Linked DNA regions of Homo sapiens: region 2 is linked to region 1. The links are contacts of gene promoters, found by promoter capture Hi-C in blood cells and fetal thymus (Javierre and others, 2016). All regions are on one chromosome and are shown on one strand. Each heading gives the region's core, a stretch centred on a gene start or on the middle of the fragment in contact. The rest is flanking DNA. Distances are from core to core; before and after follow the strand shown. Region 1 holds the start of DNER (delta/notch like EGF repeat containing). Region 2 overlaps DAW1 (dynein assembly factor with WD repeats 1).

Region 1 (3,060 bases), core at 343-2,842:
ACCTCTAAAAAATGTAAAACCTGTCATAATGAAAGGGCAGCCTTTTTCCCCATTGAAAGAACCTATTTGAGCATTCTCAAAGTAACTCTCCAATCATTGTTATCAAATTTATATGAAACAAACTCCTCCACCCTAAATGTAAGGAAGATAGTATCTGATCCCAAATATCGTCCATATTCATGTGGTTTAATGTAATCATTTCAGATAACTTCATTATTTGCCCTACCCTGCAATACAGGTTTGGGGATTTTCTACCCGTACACACAGTCCTACCAAATTGCCTACTGGAAATGTTGATGTTAATAGGTTTCACAGAGCTTTAACGGACTTGTAAAAGCCCCAGATATTATTTTCTGCCAAATTCTCCTGAAAACCCCAAATTCACGGGCGGCTGCTGGCTACATCCCATCGTCCCATCCCTCGCACCGCCCCCACGCTTTCTGGCGGCTTCCCGGTGCCCTGCTCACGCCCCGGCTGCCAGCCCCAAGCGTGCGCCCCGTGGAGCGTCCGGCAGGAAGGGCGGCCCTGCCAGCGCCACGTACAATGCCCCCTCGAATGCCTCCGACTGTTCCAACACTGCTCCTAAGCTTAGAGAGGGCTGGTCGCAGGCCGAGGGGAGGCAGCTGCCCTCCTCGTCCTCTGGCTGCTTTGTCACAGCCCTCAAGGGCGTAGGAAGAGAAGGAGAAAGTGCCCCACCACCTGGCACGGGGCCCACCATCACCTGCCTCCCACACCGCACACCCTTTACACACACAGGGTCCAGCCGGACGTGGAGCGTGGACCACCTGGACATTGAACACCTCGCCGGGGACGCTCGGAGCCGGCTCCTCCGCGCTGCCAAGGCGGGCACCGCTCAAGTGGTTCTTGGCTCGGCCCGGCCTGGAGGGGCGCGCCACTCAGTGGCCAACCGGAGCGTCTAGAGCCCCGCGCGAGAAGTGCCGAGCCCCGGAGCGGCACACCCCGAGAGCCCGGCTGGCCCCGCCCGGGAACCAGGGCGGGTAAGGGAATCAGGGTCGGCCCGGGGGTCCGCGTCCACGCGGGCCAAGAGACTGGATCCATCTTCTTCCCAAAGTGGGAAAGCCTGTGTCAGGCGTGCCCATTGTCGGGCAGCAGCAGCAGGGCCGGCGGGAAGAGGCTGCTGGTCCCGGACCAGCGCCCCGCACCGCGCCCGCCGCTTCCACTCACCTGGCAGTTGGCGCCGGAGATCCCGGCGGGGCAGGTGCAGCTGTAGCCAGGCTCGCCGGCGGGGGCCGGGTGCTGCGGGTCCGGCTCAGGGCGCGAGGTGCACACACCCCCATTCCGGCAGGGCTGCGCGGCGCACGGCCCGGGCGCAGACAGGGGCGCGGCGGGCACCGGGTTGGCCAGGGAGCTGCCTCGGGGCCCCGCTCCGAGCAGCAGCAGCAGCAGGGCCAGCGCGGGCAGCAGCTGCGCACCGGGCGCCTGGGCGCGGCGGGGCTGCATGGCCGGCCGGGAGGGCGCGGGAGCCGGAGCCAGGACGCAGTGACGGCGGCGGCGGTGGCAGTGGCGACGAGAGCTGCGAGAGCGACGGTGGCGGCTAGGGCTGCTCCGCCGGGCCGGGCGCCTCCTGCAGCTGCGGGATCCGCGGTTCCCCGGGCAACGGCGGGCGGGGCCTGCGGGGCGGGGCGGGGCGGGGCGAGCGGGGGGCGGGGCGCCTGGCGGCCCCGGCTCTGGAGCATCGGGGAGTGGGGCCTCTTTCCCCGCAGGGAGTTGGGATGGGGGTTGCAGGAAGACGATGCGGGACCCCATCCCCCAGGAGTGGGTCGAAGTCACGGGTGTGTCCAGAAGCAGCCCTGGTACAGGGAGCCAGGCGACGCTGGGGCAGGAAAGGGGCTGGAGAGGTCCACGAGTGAGGGAAGCGGGGCTTTGAGGGGCTTCCAGAGCCGGGAGCACCGAGTGCGCCCCAAGGCCCGGGCAGGGCAGGGCGCGGGAGGCGGCAGGGCGCCTCAAGGGAGGGGCGGCGCGCTCGCAGCAGCCACCTTTGGCCTCTTGGCGCAGAATCTGCGAGACCGCCGCGGGGCCCGGCCTTGCCTCATCCCCCGGGACTGCTCCCCTTCCCACAGCGCTTCTCCCGGCACCCCAAGCCCTCCCGCCCGGCCACGGAACCCTGCGCCCGACGCTTGCTCAGCAGCCGGGTTCGCCTGGAAGTGACCTCGCCTCCGCCAGGCGGACCCGGGGCCCTTGTCCTTGGTGCTGACCCAGCTGTCTCATTCTCGCCGGCCCTTTCCAGAGCGCGGGGCCTTGCCGCACCACTAAGGAACGTCTGGCCGCGCCGTGTGAGGCCGGGAAGAGGCCTTGGTGTAAGGCTGTCCACCCCTGTCGTTGAACCTAGGGGGAAACTGAGGCCCAGAAAGTCTGGATTCGAATCCAGTGGGTCAATTGACTCCCAGCCCAGAACGCCCGAAAGAACAGTTCAAAAGCCCAGGTTGGCAGAGGCGCTGCTAGCGGCAGGAATCGCAACAGGGGACTCTGCATAAAAGGAGCATTCGCTGTGACCTACTTCGGAGGGGATGGGGGGGGCGGGCTCTTCTACACGTCCTGGCTGGGCTGGCTGGTGCTGCGACCGCCAAGGAGGCTGCACTCCGCTGAATAAAGCGCATCCAGCCTTGTCTCCTCCACCTGACCTTTCACAATCTCTATTACCTGTGGGTTCCCAGGTACCTGTTACCTTCTTTTTAAGGTGGCCAAATGAAAAAAGAAAATGTGATTCCCCTGGATTGACAGTCTGGGCCAATTTTTTTTTTAGTAAACACAAAAATAGCTTGTTTTGTTTTTTAAAAAAATTAAAGTAAGGACTCCATGTGAACTTCTGCTGTAGGTGTCACAGACGCCAGGGATTGCTAAAAGTCCTCCAGTGGAAACAGAAGGCAAACTGCACGGCTTCTCCCTGTCCTGTTCAAACGCAGAAGCAAATGTCACACTTTTCTGCTTCAGGAGATACCTAAAATTCATGTGGCCATTGCAGGAAATCACTGAACCCCAGACAGATCTGCAAGCGGAGAATTCAGACCTCCAAGTGGATAGAGTTATTACATTTTTCCT
Region 2 (3,060 bases), core at 411-2,910, 1.8 Mb before region 1:
CCAACTCATCATTGTTTCACTCATTTATTTTGCTTATTCTTTCCCACGAGAATAAAAGATTGACGAAGGCAGGAACTTTGTCTATTTTGTTTGCTCCTTATCTCTAGCACCCAGAGGAGAGCCTGGTGCATAAAATGACATTAATGTTTTTGTTGAATAAGTGAGTTTAATGAGATGATGTGTGTTAAGCAGAATGCCTCAAACTCTTCCTGAAGTGTGAAAGGGCCAGATAAGTGATCTTTGATCTACTTCAGCTCTAAATGCCTAGGATTCTCTCTTTTTTTTTTTTTGAGATGGAGTCTAGCTCTGTCACCCAGGCTGTAGTGCAGTGGCATGATCTTGGCTCACTGCAAGCTCCGCCTCCTGGGTTCATGCCATTCTCCTGCCTCAGCCTCCTGAGTAGCTGGGACTACAGGCGCCCGCCAGTACGCCAGGCTAATTAATTTTTTTGTATTTTTAGTAGAGACGGGGTTTCACCGTGTTAGCCAGGATGGTCTTGATCTCCTGACCTCGTGATCCACCCGCCTTGGCCTCCCAAAGTGCTGGGATGACAGGCGTGAGCCACTGTGCCCGGCCAAGCCTAGGATTCTTAGGCTCACGTAATTCTCTTGACTCATGTTTGCGACTATTGCCTTAATGCTTATCTTATAATGAGGTCATATTACTTAGCATGCTTGACATTTAATTTCTGAATTCCAGTCTTTGGTGAGCCAAATCATATGCAAGTTTCCAAGATACTACTGAATAGCAGGTGGGTGTTTCAATAATAGCATTATCAGATAGGAAAAATTATTCCACTGAATCATTCCCGTGCTACCTTTATCCCTTCTGCATATAGAGCAGTTTTGTTTTGCCTCCTAATCCTCTAATTTTCGCCCTCCCACTTTCTTTTGAATAACGTATAGGTCAGGGGCATTGTCTTGCTGCTATCTACTGAATTATCCCTCTCCCTACCTACATTCCCAAAGGCTAAATGTACATGCCAGTGACATGGCTAACCAAACATGGGACATTCCTTTTCATCTTGGTCACATTTATTAATTCATAAGCTCTTTGCTTTGGGGAGAGTGGGTGTTGACTATGTGCTTTTCAGCTAACTCAGTTATGACAATTTTTGTATTTCATTTATTGTGTGAAGTCCATAGTTCTCAGACCAGGAGAAGGAATTAAGTCAACATTAACTAAACTAGTTAACATTCTGAGCATTTTAAAGGTTTCTGTTGATTGAATATATAATCTAAGTAAAGAATACTAATATCATTTGAAGCATGCCCTTTTAATATACTGAAAAATTTGAGGAATAGAGGCTTCTTACCTAAGTGTTTTGGGAATTATATTTATTGAATAATGCACAATCAAGGGAAAATCAAGATTATTAAGATACTGTGGGAAACAGTCACTGAAGAAAAGCATGTATTTCTGGCAGCATCTTTGTTTATTTATTTTTATTTTTGAGACATAGTTTTGCTCTGTCAGCCAGGCTGGAGTACAGTGGCACAATCTTGGCTTACTGCAACCTCTGCCTCTGTCTCCCGAGTAGCTGAGATTACAGGCATGTGCCATCACACCCAACTAATTTTAGTATTTTTAGTAGATATGTGGTTTTACCATGTTGGCCAGGCTGGTCTCAAACTTCTGAACTCAAGTGAGGCACTTGCCTTGGCCTCCAAAAGTGCTGGGATTATAGGCGTGAGCCACTGCTCCCGGACTCTTTGTTTTCTGCTTTTATTCTTCATGGCACATATCACAGCCTTTTGCTCATATTGGAGCTCAGTAATCATGAGAGGGATGAACATATTGCCTAGATCAATGTTACACAACCTTTTTGGCACCAGGGACTGGTTTCATGGAAGACAATTTTTCCACAGACCAGGGGGATGGTTTTGGGATGAAACTGTTCCACCTGTGATCATCAGGCATTAGTTAGATTTGCGTAAAGAGTGTGCAGCCTAGATCCCTTGTATGCACAGTTCACCATAGGGTTCCTGCTGCTATGGAAATCTAATGCTGCTGCTGCTGATCTGACAGGAGGCTGAATGAGCTCAGGCAGTAATGCTCACTTGCCCGCCACTCACCTCCTGCTGTGTGGCCTGGGCCCTAACGGCCACAGACTGGTACTGGTCCAGGGCCCAGTGGGGTCGGGGGACCCCTGGCCTAGAGGTTTTGTCACAGCGAAGCAGTCAAACGTACATGTTTCAATTTTGTAGTGTATTCTCCAGATCCATTTGTACAGCATCCCCACCAATTTTTAGTAGTCAGCTTGAAGACTTCGAACCTTTTTACTTTATTACAAACAAGTAGTGAATAAAGAAAGCAGACTTTTGTTAACTTATTTGCTAAAATGTTAAAAATGCATTTCCTTAGGGTATTAGATCATACTCTGTGGACTGCCAAGTGCTAATTCTTTCCAACCTTTCTCTGAGTTACAGATTATTATTTTATTGCTTATTCATTGTGTACATCATTTATTTACTCAAGCATTTATTTCCTCAATAATAAATAGCACATAGTAAATACCCTCATATATAATGCAAAAAATCTAAAATTATAGTACAGAAAGAAACACTCCCTTGATGATAGTGACACCTTGCATTGATACAGAACTTGTATGTTTAAAGTATGTATCTTTCTTGAATTTTCAAATAGCTTTTTAGGGATCTTGATCTTCAAGGGTTTATATTCTGATAATGTTGATCAACTGGGCATGGTGGTGCCTGCCTTTAATCCCAGCACTTTGAGAGGCTGAGGCAGGAGGATGGCTTGAGCCCAGGAGTTGAAGACCAGCCTGAGAAACATAGTGAAATCTTGTTTCTACAAAAAATTAAAAAATTAGCTGGGCATAGCGGCATGGGCCTATAGTCCTAGCTACTCAAGAAAATGAGGCAGAAGAATGGCATGGGTTCCTAGGAGTTCGAGACTACAGTGAGTGATGATTGTACAACTGCACTGCAGCCTGGGTAACAGAGCAAGACTCTGTCTCTAACAAAATGAAGAAGAAAATATGTCGATCCCTATCATTTTTTTCTATTTTCTTGTTTTTCTCTTACTTTTTAAATTTAA

The links. The method cuts DNA at HindIII sites, captures the fragments that hold promoters and counts their contacts. A CHiCAGO score of 5 or more calls a contact.
Region 2: a contact is called between a fragment that was not itself captured here and the fragment with the promoter of DNER in region 1, in 4 of 17 cell types (total CD4 T cells, naive B cells, fetal thymus and 1 more). The highest score is 11.0, in total CD4 T cells.

The regions. Positions count from the first base shown.
Region 1 is chr2:229,712,963-229,716,022 of GRCh38, forward strand. DNER (delta/notch like EGF repeat containing) reads right to left here and starts at 1,593. Exons shown (of 13, transcript NM_139072.4): 1 at 1,186-1,593. The coding sequence starts at 1,461. RefSeq lists silencers at 1,424-1,533, 1,604-1,663 and enhancers at 1,501-2,275, 2,276-3,049. The HindIII fragment of the contact is 4,517 bases long and covers 586-3,060 here.
Region 2 is chr2:227,875,744-227,878,803 of GRCh38, forward strand. The region is part of intron 1 of DAW1 (dynein assembly factor with WD repeats 1); the gene reads left to right. Among named protein-coding and RNA genes, the nearest start is that of DAW1, 5.6 kb to the left of the region's middle. The HindIII fragment of the contact is 4,250 bases long and covers 1-3,060 here.